Regions from separate parts of the Homo sapiens genome. Here regions 2, 3, 4, 5, 6 and 7 are each linked to region 1. Evidence: promoter capture Hi-C in 16 types of primary human blood cells and fetal thymus (Javierre and others, 2016). All regions are on one chromosome and are shown on one strand. Each heading gives the region's core, a stretch centred on a gene start or on the middle of the fragment in contact. The rest is flanking DNA. Distances are from core to core; before and after follow the strand shown. Region 1 holds the start of MDM2 (MDM2 proto-oncogene). Region 2 has its middle 12 kb from the start of IL26. Region 3 overlaps IL26 (interleukin 26). Region 4 has its middle 3.2 kb from the start of YEATS4. Region 5 has its middle 5.4 kb from the start of IL22. Region 6 overlaps CCT2 (chaperonin containing TCP1 subunit 2). Region 7 overlaps LOC105369818 (a long non-coding RNA gene).

Region 1 (4,118 bases), core at 1,490-3,989:
CCGTCTCCTCCCAGCTCTCAGCAACCTCCTCATATTCCATCTTACTCGCCACTTTCCAGATCGCTTGCTTTCTTATTTCCACATTTTCTCTGACTTTTGCAGTATTCAATATTATTACCTGATTCTGATTTTTCAGACATCACTATATGGTCCTTGGCTTTTTGGTCGTTCCTCTCATTCCTTTGCTGTTTCAAGCTCTGTTCCCAGCCTAAGCTTTTTACCACCGAATTCTGTTCTGTGACCCATAACTTAAAACTAACCCAACTTTTCATTCCCTCCAGACTTTTTTTGGTAAGCAGTATCATCATGCTTTAGGTGGACACTGAGTCATACTGCTGTGGTAGTGCTGGTACACGTAGTTTTGAATACCAGGTTCTTGAGTGAATCCTTTTTACTTCTCTCTCTCTCCCCCACCCCCGCTTCTCCCTTCTGCCTTCATTTCTGACCCTTCTTTTCTGGTTCCATTAGAAAAGGACTAATCTTATCAGTTCTGCCTTTTTTTTTCTGCTCTAATAATTTTGTCAAGATAATTTTTTCAAAGCACAAGGCCAATGAGAAGGGGGAAAGTCGGTCCAGAAGGCAGCCGGCCCGACTATTCTGAGTTTGAATCTACTCTTGGTGGTCCTGTTAAAATACAGTTTGAAGCAAATCACTTGTTTTTATGCTTCTAATGTCTACTCTGTCGAAAGCCCAAATTTCCTTGCTTGGCATTTAAGGAGACTCCAAGTTCTTAAAACTTCTTCTTGACTTTCATGCAAGTCAAACGGATTTATTTATTGTATCTCAAACAGTCCTCTTATATTTTCCTTTCTGTATTTTTTGATAATTTTCTTGTGCCTGGAATATTCTCTGCTTTTATTTAAGTCTCACCATCTTTCAAGACACAAAATATGTGTGATCTCTGAGGCCTTTGTGAACTGCCTCCAGCATTTACTAAGCAATTAATTCTGTCTCTGAACTTTTATAGCACAAACCCATTCGTTCACTTGATATTTAACAAATATCAACCTCTATCACTTATCTCTTTTTTTTTTTTTTTCTTCTGAGATGGAGTCTTGCTCTGTCACCCAGGCTGGACTGCAGTGGCGCGATCTCCGCTCACTGCAACCTCTGCCTCCCGAGATCAAGCGATTCTTCTGCCTCAGCCTCCCAAGTGGCTAGGATTACAGGCGCCCGCCACGGGGCCCGGCTAATTTTTGTATTTTTAGTAGAGACAAGGTTTCACCATCTTGGCCAGGCTGGTCTCGAACTCCTAACCTCGTGATCCACCCACCTCAGCCTCCCAAAGTGCTGGGATTACAAGCGTGAGCCACCGTGCGCAGCCTATCACTTATCTTTTCATGCTTACATTTTCTCACTGCTTGAGATTTTCTTTCATCCAGGGTCAAGCACTGAGTCTATTAGAAACCCCACTGTATATGATCTGATGAAGATGAGATTATCTTTTTAAAAGCCACATATTAAATCTCTTAAGTTAATAATATTGGCAATCAACTTAAATCAACTGAGTGACCACTATGTTTAAGGAAGTTTCCTTTCTGGTAGGCTGGGAAGCGGGAGAAGGGAAGGATATAACTTTATAAAAAAAAAAAAGCTGCAGAAGGGAAGGATATAACTTTATAAAAAAAGGTCCTTGTTCACAAGGAGCTAATCACTTACTGGCCAGAGAAGAAACGTGTTCCTTCTTTGCAATGGCTGTGTTTTTGGGTTTAGCTAACTCAATTCTTTATGTCCTCAATTTATGAGACCGCATCAAAAACGTTTTTGCCACATCTCTGTGGGAAAGTAGGTGAGTCAGAATGAGTGCATAATATATAAGTATATATTTTAATGATAATGAATGTGTAGATTAACAAACCCAAACTTTGTTTTTGTTTTTTTGAGAGTCTTGCCCTGTCGCCCAGGCTGGAGTGCAATGGCATGATCTTGGCTCACTGCAGCCTCTGCCTCCCGGGTTCACAGGATTGTCCTGCCTCAGCCTCCGGAGTAGAGTAGCTGGGATTACAGGTGACCGCCACCACGCCCGACTAATTTTTGTAGTTTTTAGTAGAGACGGCGTTTCCCATGTTGGCCAGGTTGGTCTTGAACTCCTGACCTCAAGTGATCCACCCGCCTCGGCCTACCCAAAGTGATGGGATTACAAGCGTGAGCCACCGCGCCCAGCCAAACCCAAACATTCTAAAAGCGCAGAGTAACCGCTCCCCTCCCCGCCAACGGTAACCAGCATCTTCGTTCTCCAACCAGAACAGCTGTATGCACCGGTGTATAAGCCTGCCTTAAGTGCTATTTTTAATCTTTTTTAAAAACAGGCCTTAAAATAACTCATTTGGGTACAACTCCAGCGGCTGGTGGAGTGGGCTTAATATATTAAACAGCTGTTAATTTTGGTTTCTTTTTGGTAACAGCGACACGGAGATCCGCATTTGTCGCAGTTTCCACCGCGGGCGGGAAGTGTAAACACAAGAAATACAAACATAGCGCAACGGCTAAAGGAGTGTCACAGCGCCAAACCTTGCTGGCTCCGCGCCAGGCCGAGCCCCACCCTCTCAGCTCGCGGCCAACACCCCCACCCCGCCTCACAGCCCGCCGCGCCCGCGGGGCGACACCCCCCACTCCATCATCCCGGAGGTGGTGCGGCCGAGCCCCGGACCCAATTGGCGGAAGCGGGGCCGGTTGTGTGCGCGCGCACAAATGCCCGGATGCGCCGCGACGACCCGCGCGCTCCCCTCGGGCGGTAGGGGGCGCGCACCGAGGCACCGCGGCGAGCTTGGCTGCTTCTGGGGCCTGTGTGGCCCTGTGTGTCGGAAAGATGGAGCAAGAAGCCGAGCCCGAGGGGCGGCCGCGACCCCTCTGACCGAGATCCTGCTGCTTTCGCAGCCAGGAGCACCGTCCCTCCCCGGATTAGTGCGTACGAGCGCCCAGTGCCCTGGCCCGGAGAGTGGAATGATCCCCGAGGCCCAGGGCGTCGTGCTTCCGCGCGCCCCGTGAAGGAAACTGGGGAGTCTTGAGGGACCCCCGACTCCAAGCGCGAAAACCCCGGATGGTGAGGAGCAGGTACTGGCCCGGCAGCGAGCGGTCACTTTTGGGTCTGGGCTCTGACGGTGTCCCCTCTATCGCTGGTTCCCAGCCTCTGCCCGTTCGCAGCCTTTGTGCGGTTCGTGGCTGGGGGCTCGGGGCGCGGGGCGCGGGGCATGGGGCACGTGGCTTTGCGGAGGTTTTGTTGGACTGGGGCTAGGCAGTCGCCGCCAGGGAGGAGGGCGGGATTTCGGACGGCTCTCGCGGCGGTGGGGGTGGGGGTGGTTCGGAGGTCTCCGCGGGAGTTCAGGGTAAAGGTCACGGGGGCCGGGGGCTGCGGGGCCGCTTCGGCGCGGGAGGTCCGGATGATCGCAGGTGCCTGTCGGGTCACTAGTGTGAACGCTGCGCGTAGTCTGGGCGGGATTGGGCCGGTTCAGTGGGCAGGTTGACTCAGCTTTTCCTCTTGAGCTGGTCAAGTTCAGACACGTTCCGAAACTGCAGTAAAAGGAGTTAAGTCCTGACTTGTCTCCAGCTGGGGCTATTTAAACCATGCATTTTCCCAGCTGTGTTCAGTGGCGATTGGAGGGTAGACCTGTGGGCACGGACGCACGCCACTTTTTCTCTGCTGATCCAGGTAAGCACCGACTTGCTTGTAGCTTTAGTTTTAACTGTTGTTTATGTTCTTTATATATGATGTATTTTCCACAGATGTTTCATGATTTCCAGTTTTCATCGTGTCTTTTTTTTCCTTGTAGGCAAATGTGCAATACCAACATGTCTGTACCTACTGATGGTGCTGTAACCACCTCACAGATTCCAGCTTCGGAACAAGAGACCCTGGTTAGTATTTTTGTCTCGTGTAACTTTTAAGAATAATTTATTTTATGAAGTGATAAACTAAATTTCGTATACCTCAATTGTAGCATGGCTCTGTAAATAAAATTGTATGTGCATAGCTTAAAGTGTGCTACCTCTGGCGTAACTGCGTGGAGTTAAAAACTGTTAAGAACTGGTCAGTATTTTTTTAGCCATTTGCCACATTTGCTTTAAAAATTAGTTCCATTACATTGTTAAGCGTGGTTGAAGTTACGTTTGTTACGTGA
Region 2 (4,078 bases), core at 111-2,610, 570 kb before region 1:
ATACAACAAAGACCATATGTGGCCCACAAAGCCTAAAATATTTACTATTTTTCCTTTAACAAACAAAAATCTTGTCCATTCCTAATCTAAGCCAATGATCAGAATGAACATATGAGACATATTTGACCAAACAGATTATGAGGGGATTTCTGCCTATAGGGCAGGTCCATTTGGAGGGAGGGCAAATCAGCATCTCCCTGGGCTCCCCGCCTGGGGAGAGGGAGAGGAGCTTGGTCGCGGTGCACCTTATTTTTCATTTCTGAGTATCATTAAAATTCAATTTAAACAATTATTCTTCCAGCCAAGATGGAAGTGATTTAATTTCTCCATGAGGATAGGTGTACTTCTCATTTTAAGGACAAGGAATTTTCCATGCAAAGGTTCTGGGGCAGTGAAGAGCAGATCACATGCACTCTGTAGACAAGCCCCATTGGAACAACCTTCTGAAGATGAAAGCCTGGAGAGTTTGGCAAAACCATGGGAAGAAAGCTCAAGATGATTCAACCATGGCTTTAAACCGCAGGGTTCCTAGCAGCCTTCACATGTCAGCAATTATCAATAAAAGCAATCCAACTAGGCTGTAGTTGGGTCTCCTACAGTTTGAGTGTTCCCTTTGAGGGAACACCTCTTGTCTGGCTGTGTCAGAAACAACTTAATTGCTGTGTATTTAGTTTTTTGAATGGATTTTACTCCACACCATCAGTGGCACCAGCTTTCGTATCATTCCTGTGAGCACCTGGTGGTGGGAAGTTTTCATGAGTATCAGCTGCCTAAACTCACCAAAGAGAAAGTGAAAGTACACAGCGTTGATGGAATTGTCATATCAGCCTGTAGCAGGTTAGGGGCTGAGGCCCGGTATGAGCCCAAATCCTGTTAGTCCACCAAGCTCCCTTTGCATAAGTCCCATCAAGAACTGCGTTTCCAGGGACTAGAAATAGAAAACTGAAGAGAATTAATGTTACCAGCTACTGGCCGTTTCCCACTGCATTGCCCACACAAGCTGTGCTCTAGCCACACGGACTTGTGGCCCTCGCCTGAGCACTCTATCCACTTTCACATCCCCAACTCTTTGCTCATCTGGGTCCTTGGGTCCAGAAAGCCATTCAATCCTTTGTGTATCCATCTCAAGCATTTACTGAGCACCTATAAAGTGCCAGGCATTTTCAGGGTATAGGGGCTTAAATGTAGGCAACAGTTTCTGTCCTTAAAAATTCTCAAGATAGACACATAACAAGGGATTAAACTACAGTGTGATAAATGCTAAGAGAGATGTAAATTATACCTTGAGAGCCCTGAAGATGGAGCAATTAACTACGGCTGGATTGCAAAGGGGAAGAAAAAAGGGAAATTTCACAGTGTTGTCATTTGAACCCATTTAAATCCTTCTTGTCCTCCAAAAGATCAGCTTAAATGCAACCTTCGGTGCCTTCCCAATGATGATTGTCATCTTGTTGGTGCCTCACTGGTAGCACATGTCAGTCCACTTGTGCCCTAGGCTGTTGCATGCCTGTCTTCCTCGCAAGACAACTGCAGACTCCTTCAGGGCAGCATCCAAATAAAATCTGACCTTGTGTTTTCAAAGCCCATCCCACAGGATCTTGTATATCCTATGATCTAAAAAATCGTTTAGGAACTAAATTGAATTGAAATTTCTAAGGCTTTCACTGAGACAAGCAGCAATGTAAGAGTTCTAAAATTCCTGGGCAGTTACTGTGCTTAAAAATAGCATCTGTGGCGATGGCAAGATGAAAATGTCACAGATGAAAGAACAGCTCACAAAAGCACCTCACAGCCTGTGAATTTCAAAAAGAAACAGTGCCTACTGGTAAGGACTCAGCTGGTCAATTTCTAGGTGCTATAGAGATTAAACTGCACACACATGGCTAACATAAGATTCAAGATGCAGAGAATGAACCCAGATGGTTAAGCCCCATAGAAACAATGAAGGGACTGTGACTAATAGAAACACGTTGGGTCACCCTGAATATTTTTAGTAGCTGTAACAAGAAAAGAGGAGGAAGATGGGCCACACACAACAGAATCAGCCAAAATGCAAGGTTAAGAGGAGTCAGAATTATTCCAGTGAAAGAATCTCTCATCCTGTAGCTTGCATAGTAGCCCAAATTAAACAAAGATTCCTATGAATGCCCTTGGATGCTGCAGAGAGGGAAGAGCAAACACAGAAAGGAGCAAGGGCACTCCTGGGACTGAGGGGCAGAAGGGAATTTTAGGCTCCTGTAGGCGATAGTGCACATTGGCCTCAGCACCTCTACTTCTTTGTGGAGAAAACTGTTGGAGAAACAGGAAAACAAAATATTAAACAGTATTTAAATTTTAGAAATCAAAATACTGTTGTTTCCAAGTTTGTTTTGTTACAGGATCAAAAATTTACACACGACTCAGACACACCCAAAATTGGTTTTATTTATTGTCCATAAATGATTTCACCTAAATTCCCAGACTCCATCCTGCTGCTGGGTGGGAGTTGGGGAGGGGCGGGAAATGGAAGGGGGAAGAAGAGTAAATAGGGCAGAGTCCCAGTAGAAAATGTATGCTACGTTCAAACTGGGGAATGGATAAGAGTTTAATAATAGATTGATTTTCTTAAGGCATTGTGTTAGTGTGTGCTGCTATAACAAAATACCACAGACCAGATAATTTATAAAGAACAGACATTTATTTCTCACAGTTCTGGAGGCTGGGAAGTCCAAGATCAGGGTGCCAGCAGGTTTGGTGTTTGGTGAGGGCTGGCTCTCTCTCTGCTTCCAAGATGGCGCCTTGTTGTTCATTCTCCAGAGAAGACGAATGCTGTGTCCTCACAGGGTGAAGGTGGAATGGAAAAAAAAGGGCCTAACGCTGTGTGGAGTTTCTTTTAAAAGGGTCTGAATCCCATTCAGGAGGGAGAACCCCTCATGACTTAATCACCTCCTAAAGGTCCCACATCTTAATACTATTGCATTGGAGATAAAGTTTCAACATGAATCTTGGAGGGAACACAAACATTCAAACCATAACAGGTGTGGAAAGAGCTCAAGGAAACCAACAAGAAATAGTGCAATTCCCTGAGACTAACAACAGCTAGCTGGCTGTTGAAGTAAGGGTTGAGAGTGGTTTTCAGAACTAACAAAGATATCTATATGGAGAAGGGCTGTCTGCAAGAGCTGAGGCTTTTGGTAGAAGTACATAGCCAACCAGCATGGCAGCCTGGCAGGAGAGCTCCAAGGGATTAGATACTCTGACCTTATCCTCCCCACCCCCCAGCCCACCCTTCGATCTCCCGGTACTTCTTCCATTAGCCAAATACAATCAAAAGCCAGGGAGCTTGCATGTATATGAACCAATCCATATACGTCAGCCTCTTTGGGCACCAAGTAGAGTGGAAAAGTACAGAATATGGATCTGGAGGGCCAGATGGACACCTTGCATCCCTTGTGTCTTCAGCATCCACTCTTATCTTTATCCAGGTGAAAAATGTGTATTGGCAGCCTAGGAAACATATAGAATCTCATCAGCTACCATATCATTATAGGATGATGTCATTGTGGTCATATTCCCACCTGAAAACAAAAATATTAGCCACCACAAGTACTCTTCAAATAAAAGGGAGGAAAGGAGGGGAGAAGACAAACAATGAACAGAAATCCTATCTGCTACAGCTCCTGCTTTTATAGCAATTCGAAAGACCCAAGTTAACAAGTGTGGATTCTTTCTTCCACCACCGCTTTATTTTTCCCTTACCCTCTGCCTGTACCACAGTAGAATGGAGTCCTTTGCCTGGTAAAGTGACTTAAACCCTCATTCCCATAGAAACGGAATGCTTAATGATTCTGTCTCTTCTGAGTTGATGCAATTTTCCAATGAAAATACTCCTGAACAAGGGGCTGTTACAAGAAAAATCCAGTGAATCTCCTCGGTTCAGGCAGAAGATAAATTCACTGAGGCTGTGTTTGCCTCCGAGACAAGAGGACTTCAGCCTTCAACCCTTGGTATTACTTCATTCTCCTCATCTAAGTGTCTTCACTCAAATCTTAAAAACTTCCTTTCAGAAAAAATCACCTGTCTTCCTTCAATTCCTATA
Region 3 (3,894 bases), core at 769-3,268, 590 kb before region 1:
TTTTTTCTTGAGACAGAATCTCCCTCTGTTGCTGAGGCTGGAGAGCAGTGGTGCAATCTTGACGCATTGCAATCTCAGCCTCCTGGGTTCAAGTAATCCTCGTGCCTCAGCCTCCTGAGTAGCTGGGATTATAGGCATGCACCCCATATCCAGATAACTTTTTATTTTTATTTTTATTTTTGTTTTTAGTAGAGACAGGGTTTCACTATGTTGGCCAGGCTGGTCTCAAACTTCTGGCCTCAAGTGATCTGCCCACCTCAGCCTCCCAAAGTGCTGGGATTACAGGCATGAGCCACCATGCTCAGCCTATTTATCTTTAAATTAAACTACTGCTGGCCAGGCGTGGTGGCTCACGCCTGTAATCCCAGCACTTTGGGAGGCTGAGGTGGATGGATCACAAGGTCAGAAGATCGAGACCATCCTGGCCAACATGGTGAAACCCCATCTCTACTAAAATACAAAAAATTAGCCAGGCATGCTGGCACACGCCTGTAGTCCCAACTACACAGGAGGCTGAGGCAGGGGAATCGCTTGAACCCAGGAGGTGGAGGTTGCAGTGAGCCAAGATTGCACCACTGCACTCCAGCCTGACAACACAGCAAGACTCCGTCTCATAAAAAAATAAATAAGCTACTACTATAAATTATACACATTATACAATATAATACTAATTTTAAGCACTAAAAAAGTATCTGATTACTTAAGAGAACCACTCCTTCGTAAATTGTTGAGAAAATGTAATTGGAATAAAAATTAATGTTCTGTGCATGAAAAGCAATAAAGGAAGCACTAACAATTCTGCAGAACTACTACATGCTAGGTACTTAATTCTCCCAACGACCTTAAGATGAGGCTACTGTTATTGAAGACACAGGTTTTAGACTTTGCAGCTGATAAAAGAATAAGACAGGATTGGTCTCACTCTTGCTTTATCAGTTCAACCAGTTGCAATTTTTACAATTTTAAATTACAGGGATGAATGAATGGTATTATTTTACAAGTTGATAAGCTATTTGCAATTGATGATACAAGTTACTTATTAAACAGTCTACAAAAAATGGAAACACAATATTCTGTTTGCCAATTTTTGCCAGACTTTAAAATTAATTACATGCAACCGACATGAAGAAATGTGTCTCTCTAAATACCAATTACTGTTCAGGCTCTCAAAATGTTAATTAAAGTAGACGATGAAATCTTAAAAACTAACAGAAATTATTTTCATTTCTATTTTGATCACTAGCAATTAGGTAAATTATTTTATGAATCCAATAAGGTGACTGCTAAATTCTCTTTCAAGTCTGAGAGTATTTGAGTTCTGTAAGAATCTCTAAAATGTCTTCTTACATAAACAATTTTCCAAATATTATGGCTAGGAAAGAGTATAAACATAAAGAAGTTTACATTACACATAACTTATTTTTTGAACAATTATACTATCTGACTTACCCAAATCAAACTAATTGGAAAATATATTTTATTAGGTGCTGCAAAATGCTTAGAATGTCACCAGAAGCAATGAGAGGATGTCCAAATACAGTGGTACTGGGAATTCCAGTCCTTGGAGTCTATCATGATAATTTGTCATGCTGTTTTATCTTAAGAGTGGCTCAAGAAAACGGACTTGCAAGGAAGCCCAAAAGGCAGGTACCTTAGAGAAATCAGATAAGCTTCACAAAAATAAGAAATAATTTCATGAGTTAATAATGAAACAGAGAAAATGACAACAAAATTAATAATTCATTGGTCATTATGGGAGAAAATCAGAAAACCAACCACTTATGTTGAAAGCTAGCAAATAAAGGAAGATAATTAAGTATTTAACCTGGCTTTCTTATATGATAAGTTCCTCAGAACATCCAAATAGGAGTAGATTCTATTTATTGAATTATCCCAGCTTATGAGTAAAGAAGATAAAATAGAATTTAAAAATTATTATTTTGTAGTGCCTTATGAATTAACGGATCTAGACAATAATTGTCAGGGGTTGTTATCATCGTAAAAATAAAGATCATACATCATGTGACCCAGTGAAAGCAAACAATGCTACCTATAAAGTGTTCTAGCTAAAACATCAAGCTAAATCTGATCAAGTCTCTCTGTATAATTGTTAATGTATGGTAAATAAAGAGGAGAATATATTAAATGACACTATGAAAATGCAGTCAGAAAATACAGACTATGAGAAACTCTGTGAGACAAATGGCCGAATGTCCTGAACAAATACATTTCAAAAAGGAGGAAGAGAAGGAAAAGAAGAAAGGAAAGCAAAATCATAGGAAATATGGTAGAGTTTACAGAAATGTGTTGCTTCAATGAGTGGCAAAAACAGCACTAGACTAAACAATACTTTGGTCCTGCCTAACAAAGCTTAAACAACAAGATCTGAAAAGATCAAACTGTTTGCAACTAATTTAACTGTGTCCCAGAAGAAAACTCAAGAATATTTACAGAAATATAAAAATGTCTAGGATCCAACAAGGTAAAATTCATAATATTTGACATTTGATCAAAATTACCAGCCGTGCAAAGATGCTGTAAAATATGACCCATAACGAGGGAAAAAAATCAATCAATTGAAACCAACCCAGAGTGGACACAAATGTTACAATTAATCAATAAGGATATTTTAAAAGTTGCTATAACTCTATTCCATATGTTCTAGAAGTTAGAGAAAGACTGATCATGTTCAATAGAGCAATGGAAAATATTAAAAAGACTCAATTCAAACTTCTAGAGATAAAAACTACAATGTATGAGGTGAAAAATATTCTGAATGGGACTAACAGATAGGCACTACAAAAGAAACGATTAGTGATCTTGAAGATGTAGCAATAGAAACTATTCACAATGAAACACAGAAAAGACTGGGAAAAAACAACCCACAGAATCAGTGAGCTGTGGGACAACTACAAATGGGCTAATATATGTGTAATTAGCATTCCAAGAGGAGAAGAGACAGAAGGAGATACAGAAAAAAGTTTTTGAATAAATAATGCTGAACAATTTCAAATTTGATGAAAACTATATACTCACAAATACAAGATTCCCAATCAACTCCAAGCACAAGAAGCCTGAAGAAAACTACATCAATTCACATCATAATCAAATTGCTTAAAACAAGTAATAATGAGAAAAATAAAAGGCACGAATATGTTATGAGTAAAAGGATGGAAAAAGACATAGCACACTAACATCAATCAAAAGAAAGCTGGAGTGATTCTATTAGCATCAAAAAAGAAGTGGATTTCAGGACAAAGAATATTATTAGGGACAATAAGGGTAATTTTATAATGATAAATGTGTCAATTCATCAAGAGAATATAACAATCATAAACATTTCTGTACCTAATAACAGAAATTCAAAATACATGAAGCAATATCTGATAGAACTTCAAGAAGCAACAGAAGTTCACAATTAATGTCAGAGATACCAATAATTGATAAAACAAGTAGAAAAAAGTTAATAAAGAGAGAGAAAAAGTAAAAAGCTGTCACAACTAAATCTAATTGAAATGTATAAAATACTCAGCCCAACAATGGCAGAATACATATTCTTTTCAAATATACATAGAACATTTACCAAAATAGACCAAATTCTGGGTTATGAAACATGGATCAGCAAATATAAAGGGATTCAAGTCATACAAAGTATGGTCTCTGGCCAAAATGATATCAAATTAGAAATCAAAATTAGAAAAGTATCTAGAAAAATTCCCACATATAAAAACTAAATAACACTCTTCTAATAACCCATATATAAAAGAAAAAATAAAAAGGGAAATTAGCAAGTAATTTAAAGCAAATAAACATGAAAGCACAACATAGCAAAGATTGTGAAATGTAACTAAAGAAGTACTTAGAGGGAAATTTATAGTTCTAAACTCCTATAAT
Region 4 (3,854 bases), core at 84-2,583, 550 kb after region 1:
GCCTCATATTACACTTCTAAAACAAAAGCAACTTCATACCAAGCTTTCCCTTCTACATCCCAAAGCAGCAGTCATACCTTCCCACAGGCCCATCCTTCCTTCCTTCCCTCCTATTATCAGGATGAAGAGCCTCTGCTCCTGCCAACAGCACTGACTCCACATGCAGTTTCCCTCCCATCCCTCTCACTACTCCAAGTCAGGCTGTTTCCTGCATCCCTAGTTTGTCCCTTTTAGCTGGATCACCTCCATCATTCTACAGTCTGCCCTAGTAACCTTCCATCTTACAACAAATACTCCACTGACCCTACATAATCCTCCAACTGCAACTCCATTCTCTGCTCCCTTTACAGCAAGACTTCTGGGGAAGTATGTCTGTACTTACCAACTCCATGACCTCACCTCCCAGTGTCTTTTCAACCCTCTCTAATCTGGCTTCTATCCTCACCCAGCTGAAACTGCTCCTCCAGGATTTCTCCCATGATTCCTCAGTGCTAATTCCAGTGATCATCTTGTTCATCTCAGCAGCATTTGACAAAGTGAACCGCTTCATACTTTTAGCAGTTTTTTAATCCCTTGGCTTTTCCTTATTTACATCCTACCTCACTGACTGTTCTTTCTCAGTCCTTCTTGCTCACTCTTTCTCTGCTATTTAATTTCTAAATGTGAGAGTGCCTCAGGGCTCAAGTCTATAATAATTTTATATACTACATATTTTACTTATTTGTCTCTTCTCACCAAAATATAACTTCCAAAATGACAGAGGTTTTTCCACTTTTTAAAAAAACATTGAAATAAACTCAATCTTTTAAAAAATATAAAAGTACTGTACAAAGATCTTTTATTTTTCAGAACTGTTTTGAGAGTAAATAGCCAACATGATACCCAATGGCCCTGATTACATCAGTGTGTAATTCCTATAAAGACATTCTCCTGCATAAAACCTCAAAACAATTATCCAAATTAGGAAATTAACACTGATACATTACTACCACCTAGTCATCAGATTCCACTCAATTTCATCGATTGTCCCAATAAGACCTTCATAACAAAAGCATCTAATTCAGAATCATATTGTATTTGGTTGTCATGTTTTTTAAGTCTCTTTGAATCTGGATTATTTCCTCAGTTGTTTCTTTCTGGACTTTTTATGACCTTGCCACTTTTGAAGACCACAGACTAGTTATGTTATAGAATGTACCTAAGGTTTTTCTGGTGTTCTCTCGATTCCATTAAGTTATGCATCTTTGGTAGGAATACCACAGAAGTGATGTTCTCACTGCATCCTTTCAGGTGGCATTCAGTTTTTGCAGTTTTGATTTGCCCCATTATTGATGATGTTCACTTGGATCACTTGATTAAGGTGAGGCCTGCAAGCCATCTTCACTGTAAAGTATTTGGGGAGGAGGTGCCTTGAGACTACTGCTCATCAAATTTTCAGTTTGTTTGTTTATTTATTTAGAGGCAGGATTTCACTCTGTCGCCTAGGCTGGAGTGCAGTGGCGCGATCTCAGCTCACTGCAACCTCTGCCTCCCAGGCTTATGCAATCCTCCCGCGTCAGCCTCCTGAGTAGCTGGGACTACTCGCACGCGTTACCATGCCTGGCTAATTTTTGTATTTTTAGTAGAGATGGGGTTTTGCCATGTTGCCCAGGCTTGTCTGGAACTCCTGAGCTCAAGCAATCTGCCTGCCTTGGCCTCCCAGGTGCTGGATTACAGGTGTGAACCACCGTGCCTGGTCATGCATTTATTTATTATATCAGTATGGACCCATGGCTTCTATTTTATTCAAATCATAAGGAGTTATAGTCCATTACTATTATTTATTTTGATGTTCACACTGTCCTCGATTTGGCCAGTGAGCCCCTGCAAGTTGTCTTCTGTGCCATTTCGACATATTTCCATCATTCTTCAAGCACTTTCTTGTTTTCTGGCACAAGATATTCTAAGGCTCACCTTGTTCCTTCCTTGCTTCCAAAAATGGAAAAGGCATTTCTCCAAGGAGCCCTGATTCCTCAAAGTGCATAATAGTATTAAAAAAACAGGATCTGGGCACTAGGGTATCACTGTTTCCAGGCCCTATCAGTGAACAGAGCTGGAAGATATATGTATTTACACTATATTTATCTCTATATCTATCTATTTATATTGAAAATCATGAATCCACACCAATATCTCCAATTCTAATCTCACACCACAGGATTCACTCTAGTTTTCTTCTTTCGCATGTTTTAACTCTCTTCTCTGACAGTAAGTAACTTAGCATCCATTATACTCATTATCCTTAAAATGTATCCTTAGTACATTTACGTATTTGATGGGTTTGCCTGTATGTAACCAATTCCCCAACTCTGCCCAAGTGCTCTCCACTCAGGCTCTGACATCCCTCAGTGGGTTGCTTCCTTCCCCAACACCTGGACACCCTCCTTACCATGATACATCTCTGATTTTATAATATGCTGAACCACTGTCCTGATAGGAAGAATAGAAATTTTTCACTCATTCCACTTCTGTATTCTAAACACCTAGAAGAGTGACTGGAACATGGTACATGCTCAATCAATATCAGTTGATCGAATAAATCTCTTGCTGATTATTTAGTATGTTCCCTCCAAACTGAACATTCTAAGCTTTTTGTTTTTGAGACGGAGTCTCGCTCTGTCACCCAGGCTGGACTGCAGTGGCGCGATCTCAGCTCACTGCAACGTCCGCCTCCTGGGTTCAAGCGATTCTCCTGCCTCAGCCTCCCGAGTAGTTGGGACTACAGGTACTCGCCACCACGCCTAGCTCATTTTTGTATTTTTAGTAGAGAGGGGGTTTCACCATGTCAGGAGATCGATCTCCTGACCTCGTAATCCGCCCGCCTTGGCCTCCCAAAGTGCTGGGATTACAGGCGCGAGCCACCGCGCCCAGCCTTTTTTTTTTTTTTTTTTTTTTTTTAATTAACTCTTCAAGGCCACATGATTCCAGTACAACCGCTTGCGGGGTTCCAAGCCACTTCTTGGCTATGTAAATGCAGCACATAGACTAGCCATGTGAGGGCAGCAGAGGGCCACTACATAGGTGCAACCTTTGGCTTCAAAATTCTTGGACCATTCTGACGTGATTAAACTAAAAACGAATGAGTTTATGCATATCGAGATACCCTGAGGTGTACAAAGGATGAGTCAAGGTAGCGGAGAGAGAGTTGAAGAGTGACAGCTGAGAAACAGAGATAGGACATGTCCAAGAAGTGCCAGGATAACCCAACAACACAGGCTGATTGAGGAAACTGCCAGAGATTAGACAAAGTAGACTGAAGAGGGAAAGCAATGTTTGTTGGAGATTTTGCTTTAGTTTTTGATAAATATTTCTTAGTCATACCAATTGTTTTAAATATAATTACGCCCCCAAACCAAATTTCTACTCTTATTCTGGCAACAGAATAAAAATCAATATCAATGTTTGATCATTTTCAAAGAAACTCAGTTCCTATCTTGGTTGAAATGCAGTGACATCCATATGACAATTGAGCTCTTCATGTGGCACTAATATAACTAAGCCCTGAGCACATCCCTTGCACTTCTATTTAGTGAAGTCTTTTAAAAAGTATTTTCTTTACAGTTGTTAAGTGGAATTACTAAAAATTACAATCAGCAGTATTTTCTACTCTTTTAGCTTATTTTTTAAAATATTTATCTCCATGCTTTTCAATATTACACCTATATTGCTTCTTCTTGATTTTTCCATTTTAAGATACTGACTTCCTACTATGGAAGTTAAAGATTAAGCTCTATTTCCTCCTCCTCCATCCCCATCAAGCATAGTACCCTTCTCCAAAGCCCATCCTTCTAAATGTAATTCTTTTTTTGAGGGGG
Region 5 (3,578 bases), core at 141-2,640, 550 kb before region 1:
CTAATCAGAATCCTCAACCAGAAGTAGGCTTTGGCTGTCTCATTCACTATACTGTGCCTAGCACATGGAACAGTGCCTGGCATATAGTGGCAAAATAAATATTCATTGATCACATACATAAAATAGTTTCCCAACTCATTGACTGATGCTAGAAAATCCATGACTGGAAATGCATTCTTTAAGACACAAATCTCCCTAGAAGAAAGAAGACTTCTGGTATCACAGGTAAAAAGATTTGTACTCATCATACTCTTCAGTCCAGTGCACATGATCATTGTTCCATACAAGTTTCTGTGTGTGTGTGTGCACACGTGCGTGGGTGTGATCCTACCCTCATCATTCTCCTTCCCTCCCCACTAAACACCTACCACCACCTCTACCATTGCCATAGGTCATGGCTCTAATGTTTCATGTGTATTTCTGAATATCGATGCATCCCTGTGCAAAAAGAAGTGTTGTTTAGTGTGTGTAGGTATTTTTATTTTACAGGAATGGCTCTCTTTCTTACCTTTTTACTGAGCATGATGTCTTACCATCTGTCCATGTTTCTTTGTGTAGCCTCTGCTTGTAATGTGACATTCCAGAGTGTGTACCGACCACATCTTACTTATTCATTCTCCAACAGTGGGCACCTGAACTGCCTCCAATTGCCCAGACCACAGACATTGTAGCTCTAAACACCCTTAACCAAGTCATTTTTATGGTATTTTTTGAGAGTATTTTTGACATAATTTTTGAAGTATGTCCACTAAGTCATAAGGATAAGTTTATTAGCATTTACTAAATATTGCCAGATTGCTCTCCAGAAAGAGTGTTAATCTACTCTCACACCAGCAAATAAAGCTTCCTCTGTTTCCTTAAATCCCCCTCCACACTTCGTATGATCCAGCTTTAACTTGGCCAGGCTTTGGAGGTTTAAAATGGTATCTATCTTGTTACTGTTTTAATTTACATTTTTCTTCATACACTAGTAGCCACTCGGGTTTCCACCTTTTATACATTGGTTACTTACATTAGTCACTCATTTTTCTAGCGGGCTTTGCTCTTTTTCTGTTGTTGATTTGTAAGAGTTCCCTGTATATTTTTGGTTGTAGCCATAACAAACTCTCCTCCTTTTGTTTTGTTTTTGTTTTTGTTTTTTTTGAGACGGAGTCTCGCTCTGTCACCCAAGCTGGAGGGCAGTGGTGCAATCTCAGCTCACTGCAACCTCCACCTCCTCAGTTCAAGCAACTCTCCCACCTCAATCTCCCAAGTAGCTGGGATTACAGGCATCCGCCACCATGCCTGGCTAATTTTTAGTAGAGATGGGGTTTCATCATATTGGCCAAGCTGGTCTCGAACTCCTGACCTCAAGAGATCCACCCACCTTGGCCTCCCAAAGTGCTGGATTACAGGCATGAGCCACCACACCTGACCTTCTCCCAATTTTTTATCTGTCAATTCACTTTGTTTATTTGGCCTTTGTTGAACAGCAAGACTTAATTTGGATGTCATCTAAGACATTATTTATAATTATATGATTTGCACTTTTCAAGGTTTGTTTGAAAAGCCTCTCTCCATCCCAAGGTCACAAAGACATTCTTCTATCTCGTCTTCTATTTATTCTATGGCTTAACCTTTCACAATCAGGTCTTTAATGCATTTTTGTATGTGATGAAAGGTAAGAAATCCAACTTTATTCTTCTCCACATAGTGAGCCAGTTTTCCCAACATAGTCCACTAAACAATGTCTTTTATCATATGTGAATTTCCCATACATAGAAATATATATCTGAGTCCTCTTTTTTGTTCCATTGGTTTATTTATTTTTCTTTTTGTTCTTAAGCCAGTCATTACTGAAGAGTGTCTTTAAAACTGAACAGGAAATTTTACGTTTTTTGCTCTACTTTTTCAGGGCTGACTTAGCTATTCGTGGACTTTTCATATATATTTTATATAAAGCTTATGATAAATTTGTCAAGTTCCTGGAAAAATATGGCAGAAATTTTTACTAGGTTTTTATTTAATGTAAAGACCAGTTTAAGGAGAATTAACATCTTTGTAATGTGAACTCATTACATCCAAGAGTATCGACCATGTCTCTGCCAAAGACCTTCTTTTATACCCTTTTGCTAGTCTTTCAAAAATTTTTTCACTGAGGTCTTGTGTATAAGATTTAATTCCTACTTACTTCATGGGAGAAGTAAGATGCGAAGCTGTTATTAGTCACATTTACCTTGGTGTGAATAAGTACCCAGCTGGCTTGGAGAAAGGGATTATTCAATTACTCATCTCCTGAGAACACGAAGAGCAAGTGATTCACAGCCAGTGAGGAGAAGAGGTTAGAGGTACAGCAAAAAACAAAAGCTAGAGACTGGGGTTTTCAAACATAAACTGCATTTACTTCCCACTTCTGCTCTAAGGTAACCCTGGTGGTACCCAGAGTAACTTCCTACCAGTCCCACCTCACCTGCCACAATCTGCCCACAAAGACACTTGTCAACCATAGCCACCTTTCCCTTCTTCCTGGGGACTGAGTCTTCTCAGTCAGTATTATATCTCATCTTAAAGAGAAGACTCTATCCACAGGAATGTGTCATAATGTAAACGAGCATGTTTTTCTCCCTACTAATGCTAAGTACTGAAATCAACTTAAAAGATAGAGGAAGGCAACATTTATGGAAATTCTTCACTACTCTAGTGCAAACAGAATTTGATATTAGCTTCCTAACATCTGCCCTCTACTGTCATAGATTTTTTGAAGACCACAGGTACATCCCAGTCTCTCTTTTCATTTATTATTTTGGCGAGTAAATAGGTGTAAAGAGTCATAACCCACACTTGCTTCTGCCACCAGAGATTCAAAACACAATTAATTTACTAATATCGGTGAATATTTTATCCCAGTTCTCTAATCAGTTTTAGAGTTATTAACATTTTTCACATTTTGCAGACGCTACATATTATTTTAAAACATAACTTTTAAAAATTCATATTCAAAACTCCGTGATTCTTGGTGTTGTCTTACCAGATCCTCTCAGCCTTTGATGGGAACATTGTGGGCCAAGTAAACTAAACATTTGCTACACCCTCACGACCCTGTTAAACTTTTAAAAATATGAACCACAGGGTATATATTTGTTCAGTCTTAGTGGATAATGCAGAACTGTTTTCTAAAATGGTTTTTCCAATTTGTACTCTTTAGAGTAGCATATGAGAGTTTCATTTTCTATAAATGCTTGCCAACAATTGGTATTGTCTGTCCAAACACAGTTCCAAAGCCTGGGTGATTTGGTTTTAAAATATCACAAATATCAATCCTGAGAAAATGCCCCTTTTTCCTTTTCTTTGTCACTGTTCTAATTCAGCGGCTGCATGTGTACTATAAATAGGGTAAATTATCCCAAATTTGGGTTAGTTGGACAAGATGTCGCTCTGAATCAGGGCAGATCTGAAATGTAGCCTGTTGCAAAAGAGGTGCAATCTTGTTATTCCTTTCATATTCTTACAACCAAATAAACGAAGATAATAATATTTCAACCTGTTTAACAAATATCTGTTTTGTTGCTGTTGGAATATTTTGCCAAATAAGGAATCTT
Region 6 (4,049 bases), core at 977-3,476, 780 kb after region 1:
GAGTTACACATTTGAATATTTGGCTAGAATGACTGTATTAACCTATCTGTAGGGGGAGATTTGTGTATTTGATGATTTTTAGCATTATAAAATAACTTTGTGACGTTGCGACATAGCCCAAAGGTTTCTAGAAGTGTAATTGTTGGGTCCAAAGGTAAGTGTGTGTGTTTTAAGGCACCCCCAAACCTGGGCTGCACAGCAGGTGAGCAGCAGGTGGAAAAATTGTCTTCCCATGAAACCAGTCCCTGGTGCCAAAAAGGTCCGGGACCACTGTTTTAAGGCACTTCTATTTATTTGCCCATTCACAACTGTATAATAATACTTGTTTTTCACGTCCTTTTATTTATTTATTTATTTTGAGACGGAGTCTCGCTCTTAGAGTTGCCCAGAATGGAGTGCAGTGGCACGACTTCGGCTGACTGCAACCTCTGCCTCCCGGGTTCAAGCGATTCTCTTGCCTCAGCCTCCCAAGTAGCAGGGACTACAGGCATGTGCCATCATAGCCAGCTAATTTTGTATTTTTAGTGTAGATGGGGTTTCACCATGTTGCTCAGGCTGGTCTTGAACTGACCTCAAGTGATCCATCCTCCTCAGTCTCCCAAAGTGCTAGGATTACAGGCGTGAGCCACTGTGCCCGGCCATTTCTCACATTCTTGCCAACATTAGACTTTTGCATGCTTGTGTGGCCCCCACCCCTCTTTTTTTTTTGGCATTTTGCCAGTTTGGTGGGGAAAATAACATCTTTAATTTGTGTTTCTTGATTACTGCTGAGGTTTAATTCTTTTCATATAGCTTACAGACTTGATCAGTTAGGGTAAAATTATCTATTGACATGAATATCTAGATAAATTTTGAAAAGTAAAGTAGGGTTAATATGTATATTTGGTTGGTTTTATTTAGTTCCGATGAAGTTAAATTCCGTCAAGATTTAATGAATATTGCGGGCACAACATTATCCTCAAAACTTCTTACTCATCACAAAGACCACTTTACAAAGTTAGCTGTAGAAGCAGTTCTCAGACTGAAAGGCTCTGGCAACCTGGAGGCAATTCATATTATCAAGAAGCTAGGAGGAAGTTTGGCAGATTCCTATTTAGATGAAGGTATGTATGAATGTCAGATACAAGAAGCTTTGATTAGATGCTGAGGGCTGAATACTGAGTGAATTCTGTTTTGAGACCAGTGACCCTTTACAAAGCCAGTGAACTTGAATTTAAGGACATATCATATGTGCAACCATTTTTGTCATTTTATTGACAGTGTACTCCTCTTCCCGCGCTATTCCAGCATTGTTGATGATCTCTAGAGTTTACTTAACTACCATGAAGTTATTTGCAGTCTCTGATAAAGAGGAAATGTTTTCTTTTACTAGAAATCATCTATTCTCAAATGGTACTTTTACCAGGATTATATGTATTCTCCAGGAAGGGTCTGGGTCAGTCAAATCATTGTGTTAGCTGGTTGTTGAGGATGTACAGTTGACCATTGAACAACATGGGTTTGAATTATGTAGGTTCACAATGCAGGTTTTTTCAATAAATATAGTCAGCCCTTTGTGTCCGTGGTTTGCACATGTGCAACCGAACGTGGATGGAAAATGCAGTATTTGCAGGATTTGAAACCCATGTATATAGTGGGCCAGCTTTTCAAATCTGCTGGTTCCAGTCAGCCTGGAACTTAAGTATGTGGGGATTTTGGTGTATGTGGGCGTCTTGGAACCAGTCCCCTTCGTATACTGGGGGATGACTAGTTTTTTTTAGAAAAGAATTAAAAAAAATTTCTTTAACAAATAATTATGTATGTTTATAGGGCAAGAGGATCTAGTTCTTAAAGAGTGATAAATGAGACATAATAAGTACTGCTTTCTTAGTAGTACATTTTTGTTTAGAGTGAAGTTTTCCAGATCATCTTCACATTATATTTACTTCACAAAATGGCCTGTCAAAAAGTATAGGCATTCTTATATAGAGAAGGAAAAAAAAAGAATTAGATGGTGCTTTACAACTTCTGTTTTTACCAGTGGTTTGGAGTCCTGGTTTTGTTCTGTGTCATAGGTCTTGATTTATTTTAAGAGAGAGTCATAATTCTGAAAATACTCTTGATTAAGTTTATATACAAGAGCTGTGTAGCATTTCTTTTTTTTTTTTTTTGAGACGGAGTCTGGCTGTGTCACCCAGGCTGGAGTGCAGCAGTATGATCTCGCCTCACTGCAACCACTGCCTCCTGAGTTAAGGCGATTCTCCTGCCTCAGCCTCCTGAGTAGGTGGGATTACAGGCGTGTGCCACCATGCCTGGCTAACTTTTTTGTATTTTTAGTAGAGACGGGGTATCGCCATGTTGACCAGGCTGGTCTCGAACTCCTGACCTAAGGGGATCCACCTGCCTCAGCCTCCCAAAGTACTGGGATTACAGGCGTGAGCCACCATGCCTGGCCGCTGCGTAGCATTTCTGATAGGGGCTGGTGGTAGGGAAGGAGCATTAAAACAAGAATATTAGTAGCACAAGCAGCACCATTCTTGAATGTCTGCTCTGTACTAGGAATTGTAATAGGAACTTTAGTCATTTAGTCATCATGACCTGGTGAGTGAGGATTAGGTTCACTTGAATAGAGTAGAAAACCCAAGATAATGGTGGCTTCATAATGGAAAAGTTTCTAATGTAACCAAAAAAAGGCCTAGAAAGGTAGGTGGTACTGGGTTTGTATGATGGTTCCAAAGCAGCAGGACTAGGCTGGTAACTAGCACCTCTGCTACTGGTTACATTCCTGTTTTACAAATTAGCATTTCTGGTTGGATAATTTGTCGAAGGTTATATAGCCAGCAGCAGGGGCATGATCAGGGTCAGATTTATCTGACTCCACGGTGTCCATGGTTTTTCCATTTTTACCACCAGCCTCAATACCTGAATCTTCAATTTTTCTCTTGTGGTGGTGATTTTAAGCTAATAAAAATATAGGACTTAACCTATTGTCTTTATATTGCAACCCATACAGATGTGGGTGTAGCGTATATCTGAAACAAAAGTTTCAAAATACTGTTTAATTTTATTGTCTGTACTGTGCTCTTATATTTTCTGTTTCATATTTTTTAAGTAACCCATTAAATTGATTTTGTAATAACTCTTCTAGTGGGATGCTTTATACCAGAAGTGTCCAAGGAAGAGAATACAGTCATGGGTTCCTAGTTTCTGTTTCTGGTTGGGTCGGTAAAGCCCCTTCCTCCTCCCTCTTTTCTGCTTATCACTAGAGACAGAAACTAAAATCCATGGCTTTCAGGCGCTAAAAGCCTAAAAGCAAAACAACAACAGAATAAGGCAGGTTGGACAAGCTTGCTTTTATGCCTTCTAAGAGCTTGGTAAATTGGACTTAAATAGCTTCTTTGAAACAGTGATATGATAAAGCAGACAGCTTTTTATAAGATTTACTAAGGCTGCTTTGAAGTATTAAATATGATACTGTTCTTATATTTATTGTAGGCTTCCTGTTGGATAAAAAAATTGGAGTAAATCAACCAAAACGAATTGAAAATGCTAAAATTCTTATTGCAAATACTGGTATGGATACAGACAAAATAAAGGTATGTAACTCTACTTTTTAAAAATTAAAATTACTGCCCAGGCAGAGTGGCTCATGCCTGTAATCCTAGCAATTTGGGAGGCCAAGGTGGTGGATCATCTGAGATCAGAAGTTTGAGACCAGCCTGACCAACATGGAGAAACCCTGTCTCTACTAAAAAAAAAAAAATACAAAATTAGCTGGGCATGGTGGCGCATGCCTGTAATCCCAGCTATTCGGGAGGCTGAGGCAGGAGAATCACTTGAACCCAGGAGGCGGAGGTTGCACTGAGCCGAGATTGTGCTACTGCACTCGAGCCTGGGCAACAAGAGTGAAACTCCGTCTCAAAAGTCTCAAAAAAAAAAAAATTGCTGGATTCTATAAACTCAGGAATCAATTGCACTAAAAAGCTTGGAATAGGTATGAATCTATTGTGTATATACACATATATATACGTTGGTAAAAATGTTGAAATATGCTATGGGACTCTTTAAAA
Region 7 (3,793 bases), core at 1,264-3,763, 620 kb before region 1:
AGTCATGTCATTGAGATAATGTGGGGAATGGGGGCTGTTGCTATTACAATGCAACTTCTAGGATCCTCCCAATGGGAAGAATTGGCTAAAGTAAGATAAAGGGCAAGATCTGAGTGGAAGGGAGATCAGGAATGGAGAGACCAGCGTGTTTGAAGTACCACATGTACACATATTGAAGTGTATGATATGAGGTGGTGTTGGAGAGTGTGACAGTGAGCAATAGGTAAAATCTTTCTAGAATGAGGAGGAGCACCTGAGGGATCAGTACATGATGACCATGGGGATTAGTGCATAATGTAGTCTGATGATAGGATATTTAAAGCAGGAAGACACTAAAGAGTTTCAAGAAGAAGAGAGGGAGAATGGGGTGTGCCTTGATGAAACACAAGAATGGTACTTAAACGACCTCCACCTACATGCCCAGGGTGCAAAAGAAAAGGGAAAGAAAACAGATGCATCTAGAGAAATCTGCAAAGGAACCAGGTCTCCAAGGGACAGTCTGGTCAGTTACAGTAAGAAAGCAAAGTTCAGAGAAAATGTTAAAGATATAAGGGATCTTGCTGGTGACTGACAGTGAGTTCAGGGGACACACTGAAAGGGTTTCAGAAGCTGGAGATAGGTGGAAGATGAAGTGAGGGAAAAGGAAGTGCAGTGCCATCACGGAAATGAAAGCCTTGGGACGGAGGGGTCACCTGGATGTCCTGGGCTTCTTGGGCCCTCCGTCCTAAACAAGCATAAAGAGCATCACGGGATTATCCTTGGTAGTCTCAAAGCTGAGAGTCATGGGGAGGCTGTGAACATTGAAGATCCTACCAGGGACACAAAATTACGGGTCCCTTCTTCAATCCTGCCTGTGGTTAGCAGGAGGTTGAGGGAGCGATGGTCCTATTTCCCAGAGGAATAAGAGCTCTGGGCTCCTTCAGGAAACCTGGGGAAGAGGATGCCCAAGTCTGCATGAATACCAACAGATGAGGCCATCGGAAGAAGGGCTCCTAAGAAAGAGAAACCACACACAGAAAGGAAGAAGTGAATATGACCCATGCTCACACACCAACATGCCTATAGCCAGGAGGAAATATGAGAGCTAGGAGGGAATTTAGGAGTCTCTGAATTGAAAGTATTCGTTTCAGTGAGGAGGAAACTGAAGTTTAGAGACGTAGAATAAACTTATTGTAAGAGGAACCTATGTAATATGTCTTAGAAAGCTCTCTTTCAAAATCATTATCCAAAAAGGAAAGAATGGGCCACTTAAAGGAGTATTGATTTATTAATCGGGAAATTTGCTTATGGAAAATAGGCAAAACTTGCTTCGAAATGCTTATCACAATCCACCTAAAATTTCTGTTGGCAGCATCATTATCTGTAGCTGCTTCAGTGGTGACACTAATAAATTCACATTACAGAATAGTAGTAAAGGATTTATTTTTCTTTTACATTTTATATTATGGTCACCAATTGTGAGCTCTGAAGTAAAATGTCCTGTTACATGACAAATTTAAAACAATACATTTTAGAATTTACCTTGACAACACTCTCAGAGAAGATTATTTTAGAAACTATTGATAAATTAAAAATCTAAGTGAATTATATGCCTAAAAGCTTTCTTTTAAGTGATACTTGAGGGGAAAAAAACGTCATCCCAACATTTTTAGACATTGAACTTTACAAGTGTAGAAATGGTCACAGAAAGCCTATGTTATTCTGAAATATATTTTGTTTCAGCTATGTTTGTGAAAATTGACCAGCTACTTGACAAATCTAGATTTTCTTAAAGGCACTCAACTAAATGCTATTGTCTCCTAGGACTTGTCTTGGCCATTTTGATTATCATAACTCTCCAATATAGGCTTTAGGATTTCCAAATTCATACTCTGAAGCCCAAAATTATTCCCACTATAATTTAGAGTTAGCCTTTGAAATAACTTATAGAAAGCATTAATTGATTCCATATCTAGGGGCCTTCTGAGTTGTTTATAACTTATATATATCTACATATATATTTATTGATAAAATTTTATTTTTAATATAATTTACAACCAGATTTCTCTTACAAAAAAGATTCAATCTATTTTAAAAGTATGATAATCAATTATATTATATAATTTGTGCCACAATTCATACTTATCTATTGATTTAGAAACCACATTCAAGATAATCCTCTCTACCAAGAATTGGCCCCCAGCGTAGCAGCAAAGCACCATTAACTATCATTTCCACCGACAGCTGAAGTTGTGGTTTTGCATTCAGCACTTTTTTCCTTGTGTGGAGTATAGAACAAAAGATGTTACTAATGTAATAATGTGAGTCATCATCCAAATCTGTGGTTACTACTACCATGAAAAGTTTTCTTTCTCAGTAGGAAAGTGTCATTGGTCATTCCCAAGATGTTACAGATGAACAGAAAAAAAGTGAATATCGTTGGCACTTCCATTTTATCTAGGAAATAAAACTGAGTTCCTCACTTGTGGGTAAAGGCAAGTCACTGTGGTGACACACCATGTTTTTTCAGTAGATGAGGTGAGCAGGAAGCAGCAATCTGAGATGTCTCTTCAGTGCATTTCACACTTACGACATTCACTTTGTTTCAATAAATACAAATAGCAAACATAAAAATTATTATCTATATATACTTATTAAAATCTCTTCTAATCTCCTCCAAACATATTTATCATATCAGCATTTTGCTTCCTTAAATGTTTTTCTTATTCTTTGAAGAGAAATCCAGTAGTTGTTGTTTTTCTTCTTCTTCATTAATAATACACTTTTCTAGCTCTGCTTCATCTCAAGATAACCATTTGTGTGAACTGGTGTTTTCCAAACTGTTTTCTAGGTAACAAGGCATTTGATCTGACTAAGTGCCTACAAGGCCAATGTATTCTTGGAAGAAACAATCTTCTAGAAACTCATATTAAACAAAGTTAAAGAGTTGTTTTAATGTGGAACTTCTCCAACCTGTAACATTCTGATGGGCTTTATAATTCCCCATACAGAAAATATAGTTTGCACCATTTTCTTAAACTTGTTAAATAAGAAAACACTTTTGTAAGTTTAAAACAGGAAAACTAATATGTTGAGGAAATACTATATATTCCATGCAATAGAGTGAGAAAAGCTGATTTCAGTCACACATTTGTTTCTTTCTTATGGGCAAAGTACACCATTACTTTGTGGTTAGTGCTTGCTGTTATGTCCAAGGCATCTATATTATTATGATGACCAGATATTCATGGTTTGGTGCCAACTTCAATTATGTGGTCCCATTGTCCCTCTGAGCATGTTAGAACTTTTCAGAGTTTGCTGCCCAATTTTTCATTCAGAAAATATATTCTCTGCATATATGGATAAATAATTTGGTAAATCAAAAGAACATAATCTTCCATAGTTAAGAAGTTGTTTCTGCCATTTGTTAAAAGTAACCAGATAACTAAGAAGCTTACCTGAGAGAAAATAAGGCACAACAGGTGAATCAGAGAATTGTAAAATCTTCTAGATCATGGCTTTAACTTCTTTCATGATAATTATGTGATGCTACTAAAAATATTTAACATCCCCAAGCCTGTTTCTACATCCACATAAATTACAAAACCAAAATCAATAATCTTTTTACTCTCTACTCCTTAGTCATTGTAAGGATCCTTCAGGTCTGTGCAAAAATGTCACCTCATTGGTGAGCTTTTTCCTGACCAGCCCTTTTTTTTTTTTTTTTCGGAGACAGAGTCTCCTCTATCACCCAGGCTGTAGTGCAGTGGTGTGATCTCAGCTCACTGCAAGCTCCGCCTCCCAGATTCACGCC

The links. The method cuts DNA at HindIII sites, captures the fragments that hold promoters and counts their contacts. A CHiCAGO score of 5 or more calls a contact.
Region 2: a contact is called between a fragment that was not itself captured here and the fragment with the promoter of MDM2 in region 1, in 6 of 17 cell types (megakaryocytes, fetal thymus, naive CD4 T cells and 3 more). The highest score is 8.7, in megakaryocytes.
Region 3: a contact is called between a fragment that was not itself captured here and the fragment with the promoter of MDM2 in region 1, in 3 of 17 cell types (megakaryocytes, erythroblasts and M1 macrophages). The highest score is 11.1, in megakaryocytes.
Region 4: a contact is called between a fragment that was not itself captured here and the fragment with the promoter of MDM2 in region 1, in 1 of 17 cell types (monocytes). The highest score is 5.2, in monocytes.
Region 5: a contact is called between a fragment that was not itself captured here and the fragment with the promoter of MDM2 in region 1, in 1 of 17 cell types (megakaryocytes). The highest score is 6.2, in megakaryocytes.
Region 6: a fragment that was not itself captured here is called in contact with the fragment with the promoter of MDM2 in region 1 in 1 of 17 cell types (monocytes); the score reaches 6.6 in monocytes.
Region 7: a fragment that was not itself captured here is called in contact with the fragment with the promoter of MDM2 in region 1 in 3 of 17 cell types (naive CD4 T cells, non-activated CD4 T cells and fetal thymus); the score reaches 6.2 in naive CD4 T cells.

What each region holds. Positions count from the first base shown.
Region 1 is chr12:68,805,438-68,809,555 of GRCh38, forward strand. It overlaps MDM2 (MDM2 proto-oncogene), which reads left to right and starts at 2,740. Exons shown (of 11, transcript NM_002392.6): 1 at 2,740-3,054; 2 at 3,771-3,855. The coding sequence starts at 3,041. It also overlaps the pseudogene SZRD1P1. RefSeq lists a silencer at 2,438-2,827 and enhancers at 3,029-4,118, 3,328-3,717. The HindIII fragment of the contact is 7,204 bases long and covers 212-4,118 here.
Region 2 is chr12:68,235,970-68,240,047 of GRCh38, forward strand. No RefSeq gene overlaps it. Among named protein-coding and RNA genes, the nearest start is that of IL26, 12 kb to the left of the region's middle. The HindIII fragment of the contact is 6,281 bases long and covers 1-4,078 here.
Region 3 is chr12:68,215,677-68,219,570 of GRCh38, forward strand. All of the region lies in intron 3 of IL26 (interleukin 26), which reads right to left. Among named protein-coding and RNA genes, the nearest start is that of IL26, 8.2 kb to the right of the region's middle. The HindIII fragment of the contact is 700 bases long and covers 1,669-2,368 here.
Region 4 is chr12:69,354,621-69,358,474 of GRCh38, forward strand. No RefSeq gene overlaps it. Among named protein-coding and RNA genes, the nearest start is that of YEATS4, 3.2 kb to the right of the region's middle. The HindIII fragment of the contact is 2,584 bases long and covers 42-2,625 here.
Region 5 is chr12:68,257,172-68,260,749 of GRCh38, forward strand. No RefSeq gene overlaps it. Among named protein-coding and RNA genes, the nearest start is that of IL22, 5.4 kb to the left of the region's middle. The HindIII fragment of the contact is 1,098 bases long and covers 842-1,939 here.
Region 6 is chr12:69,588,585-69,592,633 of GRCh38, forward strand. CCT2 (chaperonin containing TCP1 subunit 2) reads left to right here. Exons shown (of 16, transcript NM_006431.3): 7 at 901-1,103; 8 at 3,475-3,575. Among named protein-coding and RNA genes, the nearest start is that of CCT2, 5.2 kb to the left of the region's middle. The HindIII fragment of the contact is 2,196 bases long and covers 1,129-3,324 here.
Region 7 is chr12:68,187,673-68,191,465 of GRCh38, forward strand. All of the region lies in intron 1 of LOC105369818 (a long non-coding RNA gene), which reads left to right. Among named protein-coding and RNA genes, the nearest start is that of IFNG, 30 kb to the left of the region's middle. The HindIII fragment of the contact is 1,833 bases long and covers 1,598-3,430 here.